Linked DNA regions of Homo sapiens: regions 2 and 3 are each linked to region 1. Evidence: promoter capture Hi-C in human tissues and cell types (Jung and others, 2019). All regions are on one chromosome and are shown on one strand. Each heading gives the region's core, a stretch centred on a gene start or on the middle of the fragment in contact. The rest is flanking DNA. Distances are from core to core; before and after follow the strand shown. Region 1 holds the start of RPL10L (ribosomal protein L10 like). Region 2 has its middle 59 kb from the start of RPL10L. Region 3 has its middle 40 kb from the start of RPL10L.

The links. Contacts are between HindIII fragments. The study calls those that stand out against the background at their distance.
Region 2: a fragment that was not itself captured here is called in contact with the fragment with the promoter of RPL10L in region 1 in 2 of the 25 tissues and cell types used here (dorsolateral prefrontal cortex and mesenchymal stem cells).
Region 3: a contact is called between a fragment that was not itself captured here and the fragment with the promoter of RPL10L in region 1, in 3 of the 25 tissues and cell types used here (adrenal gland, dorsolateral prefrontal cortex and spleen).

The regions. Positions count from the first base shown.
Region 1 is chr14:46,650,343-46,653,582 of GRCh38, reverse strand. RPL10L (ribosomal protein L10 like) reads left to right here and starts at 1,802. Exons shown (of 1, transcript NM_080746.3): 1 at 1,802-2,573. The coding sequence starts at 1,847. The coding sequence ends at 2,491. The region is part of intron 3 of LOC105370481 (a long non-coding RNA gene); the gene reads left to right. The HindIII fragment of the contact is 6,030 bases long and covers 1-3,240 here.
Region 2 is chr14:46,591,117-46,594,356 of GRCh38, reverse strand. No RefSeq gene overlaps it. Among named protein-coding and RNA genes, the nearest start is that of RPL10L, 59 kb to the left of the region's middle. The HindIII fragment of the contact is 5,172 bases long and covers 1-3,240 here.
Region 3 is chr14:46,690,510-46,693,749 of GRCh38, reverse strand. No RefSeq gene overlaps it. Among named protein-coding and RNA genes, the nearest start is that of RPL10L, 40 kb to the right of the region's middle. The HindIII fragment of the contact is 3,642 bases long and covers 1-3,240 here.

The sequences.
Region 1 (3,240 bases), core at 553-3,052:
GCTCATGTTATGTGACTCATTTTCTCACTCACAGTCACATTGGCCTGACTTTAAGTTCCTTAAAATGTTCCATATTTCTGCCTGCTTCAGGCCTTTTATACATCAGACCCCATGTGCCATGGTCACTACATGAAATTTCTTTTCTGATAAAGATTTTCCTGTCTATTCCTCAGTCTGGATCAAGGTCTCATCCCCAGCCTCATCCCACAGTCTCAGGGCTTACTTTGCTTTTCCTTTTTGGCACATTTTACACTTGGTAATATGATGATATATGAGAAGTATCTATATCCTCTCCTAGGCTTGTAAGCTTGGTGAGAGCAACATGGTATTAGCTACTTTATCTCAATATGTTAAACAGGAACTAGTTGAGAAAAAGGGGAAAGAAGAAATGAAGGAAGAAAAGGGAAGTGAGAAAGCTTTCTTAAAGGTCAGAAAGTTTTCTACATTGGGAGATTTAATTGTTTTATCTTTAGTATTTTGTAAAAATCCACTCACTTTAAGGGCAGGAGTTATTTTTCTCCCTTAAAACAAAGAGTATTGACAGAATATATTCACATTGGGGGGATTTTGTTCCATGATGTAATGGATTTGTGAAACAACATTAAAACAAAAAAGAAAACTAGAAAAATGCAAGTAGGGTTTGTAAACTATTAATTTCTTTTCCTCTCTCTTCTTCCTCCTTTCCTACACTCTGATCCCTGTCATAATATTTTTACAAACTCTGAGAAGAAAAAAAGTTTAAATTTATTCTCAGGGGCAAAAGATTACTAAAACACAAACTGTTACTCTTTTATATAGTTTCAGCAGCTTTAACATTTGAAAATGCAAATAGCCTTAAGTTAAAAAAAATCTAGTTGGTGTTTCAATTTTGTATATATCATTTTGATAATAAAATCATTTCTTTAGGCCAAATAAAGAAAAAACAAAGTTTCATGTTTATAAAACAATTGCCAAGCTACAGATACAACAGATATCTTCTCTTTATCCCTCTCTCTTCTCTTCCTCTCATCTCTTCCTGAGTCTCATCAAAGCACTCATGCCAAGAAACCACTTTATCCAGGGAAGGTGGCCACATAACCCAAGAAACAGCAATTGATCTACAAATGCTGACAGTGAGATACAAGCTCTGGAAAATGAACTGACCAAACTGGAAACAGCATGTTGAATAACTGGAAGGATTTTTCCTCTCAAATTCTAGGATTTCTTTTTTTCTTTTTCTTTAGACAGGGTCTCCCTCTGTCACTCAAGCTGGAGTGCAGTGGTGCTATCTCAGCTCACTGCAGTTTCTGCCTGCAGGGCCCAGGCGATCCTCCCACCTCAGCCTCCTGAGTAGCTGGGACTACAAGCATGTGCCACCATGCCCAGCTATTTGATATATATATATTTTTTTTTTTGTAGAGACAGCATTTCACTATATTGCCCAGGCTGGCCTCGAACTCCTGAGCTCAAGAGATTCTCCTGCCTGGAAATAACCTCTTTTATACTTAAAGCAAAGCTGAAAGCAAGAGTTCCTAGCCCAAGATGGCTAGCAGAAAGGAAGCAGCAGCTGTGCAGTTGGGGCGGGGCCCAATTCCTTCCCTGGCCGCCAGGGGGAGTCTACCCACAGCTGACTCTGCTCACCTTAAGCGCGCCACTTGGCGCAGGCGCTGAGGCGCCAGACGTCCCTGCGTCTCTGGTTGGGACGTCCTGAAAGAGAGTCGTCACATCCTCCTCAGGACTCTATGGTTCCGGCCTCAGGACTCTATGGTTCCCGCGAGGGACGAGGGGCAACGTATATAAATGCGCGCAGGCGTAGTTAAGAGAGCGCATTTTGACTTCGAGGCACCGCCGACGTTACTGTGTCGCCATGGGGCGCCGTCCAGCTCGCTGTTACCGGTATTGTAAGAACAAGCCGTACCCAAAATCTCGTTTCTGCCGAGGGGTTCCTGATGCCAAGATCCGCATCTTTGACCTGGGTAGAAAGAAGGCAAAAGTGGATGAGTTCCCACTCGGTGGCCACATGGTGTCTGATGAATATGAGCAGCTGTCTTCTGAAGCCCTGGAGGCCGCCCGTATTTGTGCCAACAAATACATGGTGAAAAGTTGTGGCAGAGATGGCTTTCACATGCGAGTGCGGCTCCATCCCTTCCATGTCATCCGCATCAACAAGATGTTGTCCTGTGCTGGGGCTGACAGGCTCCAGACAGGTATGCGAGGTGCCTTTGGAAAACCCCAGGGTACTGTAGCCCGGGTCCACATTGGTCAAGTCATCATGTCCATCCGCACCAAGCTTCAGAACGAGGAGCATGTGATTGAAGCCTTGCGCAGGGCCAAGTTCAAGTTCCCTGGACGCCAGAAGATTCATATCTCCAAGAAGTGGGGCTTCACGAAGTTTAATGCTGACGAATTTGAAGACATGGTGGCCAAGAAGTGCCTCATCCCTGATGGTTGTGGAGTCAAGTACGTTCCCAGTCATGGCCCCTTGGACAAGTGGCGGGTTCTGCACTCATGAAGGTTTTGGCAGTACTGTCTCCTTGGGCCATGCTGGTCTGACTTATGCTTACTAATAAATTCTGTTTACTGGCAAAAAATAACTCCTTATTAAGTTTTAATATTTTTTAAATATCCAATGTTTTAGAATATAGACTACTAGAGAATTTTTTTCTATTTATTCAGTTTTAATGGCAAATGTTACCTTCCTTGCTTCAGTAAAACTATACAATTTATAGAGAAAGCTGTTTTAAGCAAACACTTTAAATTTAGGAGAGTATAGAGCAATATGTTGAAAGTTTTGTTTGTAGTAAAGTCATAAGTTATGCAGCTATCATTCCTTGAATAAAAAATAGATTTGAGTGAAAAAATTTGTTTATAGAATATAAACTAAACAGTAGCGATGAAAATAATAGTAGGCATTAGTGATATTTCACCCACAGCCTCTTTGGAAGTAATTTATTTCTAAACTTGGTTGCCTTATGTTTTTCTATAAATTTCTGTACATTGTTTTTAGAATTACCTTACACGTCTGATTATCAGCCTTAGGACAATTGAGTATCACTCTGAAAGGCTTTTCCAGACGAACTTTACATTGTCTCACAGTCAAGAGATAACAGTCTAATCTTTTTTTCATCATAGAAAGGTCATAGGTGACAACAGAGTTCATATTACTTGTATCTGGGCTCCAGTAGAACCAAAAGAAGAGAGAAAATGACACTAAATCGGTTATCTGTGCTATAAAAGGACCCTAAAGAGAGTTTGCAATTG
Region 2 (3,240 bases), core at 266-2,765, 59 kb after region 1:
GCAAAAATAACTTTTAAGATAAAGCAACATATAGTAAAACTCACATATTTTATTAGCTATAGCTTTATATTGAATCAATGAAAATGATAAATAATTGTTCCATTATGAGTGGTGTTTCACTATAGATATAAGTTTACTGTAATAAATATTATAAGGTAGGTCCCTTCTTAAATATACCCAAATGAGATTATTTGGTGGTTGATGTGGTAAAACAAAACATAATAAAATTTATAATGCAGTTTTACAGATTGGACCTGAAAATTGCATAATGTTGAAGTTTCAAGGTTTGGAGAAACAGGGGACTTAATAATTCAATGAGAATTTTTTTTTCATGGATAATCGGTTTGTGTAGTTGGATAAGTAAATTATTTCAAGGTAATGACCATTTTTTCTAGTTTGCCAAACAGAAGTTATATGATATATAGTTTTAATACTAGATTCAGATAATTTTATTTTACTTTAATGTTCCTTTTTTGGGGCACTTATTTATACCCAAGTGATTTTTGACAAATTAAATAATAGCTGACTACTAGATGATATTGAGTCTTTGGCATTAGACTGCCAGTGTTGGTGGCCTGGTCCCTACTTATAGTTTTCCTTGGACAACTTAGTCTCAACTGTATCCAATTTATAGGAATGTGTGTGTATTTAAGGAGTTAGCATATGTTAAACAGCACCTTGAATATAATAAGTGGACAATAAATATTGTACAAATATTTGTACAAATGATTATGATTAATGATAACGGTATTGAAGACCATTTAAATTCCTCTATATAAAACTGGGCTTTGGGACTTTTATTCGCTAGGATGTTAGTGAAGATGCACTGTTTTCTACATCTTATTTTTTTCCTCTGCCTTGATTTCCTTGCTTAATATGCAACATGATATCTGGTAGTAACTTACTTAGAAAAGACATGTGTGTAGTAAATCTTATTGAGACTTGGTATGGCTAAAATGAGTTTAATCTCTTTTCTCACTTTAGTGATTGTTTGCTGGTTTAAAATTCCTCTATTTATTTATATTTCTTCTGATGTGTTCAGACCCCTGTACCAGGCTACCACTCTGTCCCATGAGATTGTTAATTCAGGTTCCAATTTATGTCCCAGGTCTTTATTTTCAACTTTTCTGGGAAATTGTCTAGAATAAAGTTGGCCCACGTCCAGACTTGACCCGTCATTGTTCAGAACCTATATTAGAGAAAGGAACACATGGAAGTATATATAATGAACCTGTCTTCTTGCTACCAGCCCACAATTGACTCACCACAAAAATTAGGGTTTAAATGGGGTGTCTGTATCTTTGCCACAGTGTGCACACATCCCAGATATTGTACCTGGGAGTTTCTGGTGAATACTTTTTCTTTCCTATTTCTTGGAATACTAAAATGCATTCACAAAAGGGAAGCTTTGTGTTGACTTACAATCTACTATTTTTTGGGGTCAAATAATGTTATTTCTGTAGAATTTACAGACTGAAGGTTGGACTTGTTTTAAGGATAGCATAATTAAGGCAATCCTCTCTATTTCTGCTTAGGATACTCATTTATAAAATCACTTCTTATTTTTAAAGAGAATATAGGCTGTTCTAGATGTACTGGTGGATAAAATGAAATGCTGATATAGGTGAAGAGCTATTTACTTGAAAAGTGCTTCAGTCTTCTGCTTAGGGAGGGAATATTTCCATTGGTATTGTGTATTCCATATAGACCATTCTCTAATGTTGTCCCCAGTATGGGCAGAATCCAGGGATGGTGGAGCTAGTTTTTCTAAAAAGGAATGTAAAAAGGAGGGTCAGTTCTTCTGTCTTTCAAAGATGTCTTAGACATCCATTGATCAATTGCTATTGCAAAGTCTGCAAGACAAACCACAGAAATATTTGAGGGGTGTCCATATGCTTTTTGTAAGGGTATTAACAGTTCAGGAACCTTTAAGACTTCTGTTCAAATTTCCTGGACAGGAAGAAAAGTGATTGGTTAAATATAATTGCAGCTCAGGATATGTGCAATAGTACCACTGAGAGAAAAGGTTGGAATGATTATTTGGGAACATGTTTTAGGAGTCCCTTGGCAGAGAGGTTTAAACCAAAACTAGAAATTAGTAAGGAGTTATTAAAGACCTTTGAGCATAAGAGTTGTGAAGTGAAAATGAGATTAACCTGTCATATATCTAGGATGAAATGTAGCACGGAGATTAAAGGAGAATGGAAATTAGTTCAAAATAATTGCTGCAGTCTCTAAATAAGAGTTGACAGTTAAAGTAAACATGAAGGTATATGTGGAAAAACACTGTAAAGAAAGAATCCTTAAGACTTAGCAAATAATTAGCTATATGGAATGTGGACTTAGAACTAAACAAGAAATTTCTAAGAATTTCAACCTAGATGACAAAGAAAATGGTGAGGACAGAGTAGAGAAAATTCAGGTATAAAATATAATGTTCAGAAAAAGTGACATTTCAGTATCACTTTCTGTTTTTGTTTTTTGAGACAGAGTCTCATTCTGTCACCCCGGCTGAAGTGCAGTGGCATGATCTTGGCTTACTACAACCTCCACCTTCTGGGTTCAAGGAGAGTAGCTGGGACTACAGGCCTGCGCCGCCACACCCGAATAATTTTTGTATTTTTACTAGAGACAGGGTTTTGCCATGTTGGCCAGGCTGGTCTTGAACTCTTGACTTCAAGTGATCTGCCTGCCACGACCTCCCAAAGTGCTGGGATTACAGGCTGAGCCACCGCGCCTAGCCTGAAGTTTCACTTTCACTTTTGAAATGAAATTGTCATTTCACTTAGGATGCATTGCAATTAATATGTTAACACTAAAAAGCTTTCAAGCAGTTTATTGGATATAAGCAGTTTATTGGAAAATCTTAAATCCAAGATACATTCCTGATTCAGAAATCGATAAGTAATATTTTATTTTATTTTATTTTATTTTATTTTATTTTATTTTATTTTATTTTATTTTATTTTATTTGAGGCAGAGTCTAGCTCTGTCACCCAGGCAGAAGTGCAGTGGCAGGATCATGGCTCATTGCAGCCTTGACCTCCTGGGCTCAAGCAATCCTAGTTTTAAATTTTTTTTTTTTTTTTTGTAGAGACAAGGTCTCACTATGTTGCCAGGCTGGTCTCAAATTCCTGGGCTCAAGCGATTCATCCTGCCTTGAGCTCCCGAAGTATTGGAATTATAGGCATGAGCTATTGGGCCTGGCCTGTAAGTAATTTTAAATTACACTAATTGATA
Region 3 (3,240 bases), core at 493-2,992, 40 kb before region 1:
TCTCCTTAAATAAAAACAATTAGAAAGCTTGTTTTAACCAGGTTGAATCATGTCACTCAAAAAGACATGCTAAAGTCCAACCTCTTACAATGTGAATTTGCTTGGAAAAAATGTTATTTCAAATTTAGTTAATTAATTAAATAAAGTCACACTGGAGTAGGGTGGGCCCTGAATCCAATATGACTGGTGTCCTTATAAGAAGAAAAGAAAGATACAGAGAAGAGAATGCCATGTGAAGACACAGAGACCCACAGGAAGAACACCATGTGACCACAGAGGTAGAGATTGGAATGATGCAGTTGAGAGACAAGGAACAATCCGCAACCATCACCAAAATTTAAAAAGAGGCAAGAAATAATGATCTCTCACAGTTTTCAGAGAGAGCATTGACCCACCAAAGCCTTGACTTCAGACTTCTAGCCTCCAGAATTGTGAGGCAATATATTTGTAGGTTCAAGCCACCCATTTTGTGGTACTTTTTTATAGCAGCCGTAGGAAACTAATAGAATCTTGCCTGCCAACTATGCATCATCTTCCTCATGAATCCACAATTTATTTGATGTTTGCAGAACCAAGGAAACTGTGCAGAATATGTGAGATATACATGTTTAATCACTTCTCCAATCTTTCCAACCAGATAAACATTTCATCCATGGTAAAGAGCATGGGAAGGACAAAGAAGGAAGGGAAGAAACCACCTTTTCATCTCCCAGGAAGTTGAAAGTTTCTCTTTTATGGTCTGGGCTAGTAACATAGAGAATGGAAATAGTTTCCCTTTGGTCTTATAATTCTCCAGGATTTGGCAGTTTTACGTAAGGTAATAAGAATTTGAGGAGTGTGTGTGTGTGTGTGTGTGTGTGTGTTGTTCTGGCAGAAGTTTTGTCTTAGAAGTACCCAATCAAATTTTCATGTTGAAAAGATTATTTGCCAACAGTCAACAGAATGAATTAGAGAGGGCCCAAAAGGAATTTGGCGAACTCTCATAGCTTTAAAAGAGAGATTGTAGCAACCTGTCCTAAGGTGATTTTATTGGAAATAAAAAATAGTTTAAGAGAAACTTAAATGTAAAACTCTCAGCATTCTGATGAGCGAAGTGGGGTGGATATGTGGAAGCTGGCAAATTAGTGAGTGAGAAGATTATAGCAAAGGAAAGTAAGCGTGGTAAAAATGTTTTAAAAGTAGAAAAAACAAGAATAGAAAGCAAAAGGTTAGATTGATCCATGAATTTTGCTAGATATGGGCCACATGGGCCTTTGATGTTTTTAGAAAATGACACAAAGAAGTAAATATGTAATTTCTTACAGTACTTAGAGGATAAAAGTGAATCATTCTTTTTAACAGAAGCATAAGAATTCCTGATACCAGGAACCAAAAGACATTTTCTATGTAGTTCTCTATAAAAATAATACGGTATAATCAGTGAATATCATCCCCACCAAAACCTTAGCAACAATTCCATCAATGAGAAGCTGAAGACTAGTTAAATTCAAGGTAAAATTTTACAAGTATGTCAAATATGAATTTTTTGTAATATTTGGCAAGCCTTCATAAGCACTATTCTCTCAATGAAGTATTAAGTTGTGTAGATTGGAGGTGATAGCCCTGTGAAAGAATGGAATATTCTCACCTGTGTTACTAAGTGATTCGTCATACAGCTGAGGTGGATATAACACTGGCATTTGCTTATGAGAGTTGTTGAGACGTTTAATAAGAACATGTGCTGATATACGTAACAAGAACAGTGTCTGGATAGAAACCTGTCCTACCACTGCCCAACAGGTTTCTAAGATAACATCCTTGGCAGGGTAAGAGAGTCTTTAAAAACAGAAAGGAAGGTGATTCTTTAGGACATAGATAAATAGAAAATGGAAGTCTGGAGGTTCTGTTTGATGATTGTAGTCTGAAGATCAATCAATCAATCATCCAGTGTACCTTTATGTAAAAGCAAAAAATGTAATTATCAGGGAAAGTAGCTAATAATGTGACCACAACTTCCTTGAAAAAGTAAACACATCAATGGGACCAACATTTTTGTTAGCTTGAATTCTTAACTAAAGCTGTATGAATAAGTATTATCAGATAATAAAACAATCTGGTTTCCTGGTAAGAAAAATGAAACTCTGCACAATTTGTTCTACATACCAGATGACTTTATTTCATATAGTAACACTCCTATTTGTTAAAGAGGGTTAGTTTATTTTATTTTTGCTATTTTAATGCTCATTATAGGTAGACAAATACGTTTATAAAAATACCTGTATAAGAAAATTGGATTGTCAAATAGGTTTCTTCCAGTTGTAACTGAAGACCCTAGTAAAAGTGGCTTAAAGAATAAGCCTTGTTTTCTTATATAACAGGAAAGGTCTTTCAGGATGAATACTTCAGGAATTAGTGATGTCCTAGTCCATCTTTCTGTCTTGCCATACTTAGCATGACAGTCATGCTAAGTATTACTACATTTACATATGAGGACTCCACAATTTCAGTCATCACATGTAAATGCAACATCATCCAATGGGGAACTGGGCATTTTTTTTTCTTATCTGTCTATATGATCTAGTGAGGAAAACCTTTCTAAGAAGGAAGCTTTCCATCAGATTTCGTTGGCAAAGAATGTGACAAATATTCATACATAAACCAACCAATGGCTAGAGTAATAAGATTTTTATGATTATCTTAGAACATTCATCATTCACTCTAGGGCCTAGAGGTAGGTGAGAATTATAACCACATCTGAGACTGATTGTATGGCAGAAGACTACTCAAACAAAATTACTCTGTGTTTCTAGCAAGGAAGAATAATGGCAGAGGGTGTCTATTGACTGGGCAACCAGAGTAGCTGCCACAATGGGTAAAGCCATTCATTTTAACAAGTGAGATAGAATGACATATTGAGATTTCATACTTGTTTGATTTTATTTTGTTCCTACTGGAGGGAAAAAAATATTCATCTATTCTTGCCAGCTTGGGGAAATAGAGAAGAAAGTGAATCAAAGGAGGAAATAAATGGATTAACTATTATTCTAGGAAAGTAGCCAGGCCTTTGGAAAAAAAAAATAAACAAGCTCTTTGGTAATTTCTATTTTTGTTTTCCAGTAAGGAGATAGGCTTCTTGCTGATGGGAGATCAGACTCTACTATGAAGAGGAAAAATGCACTCTTTGTATTTCTTGGAATTGTTAAAAAGCTACTAAAACCCTAAAATTAATCCTGGAGGGTTAGGAAAAAGGACAAGAATGGT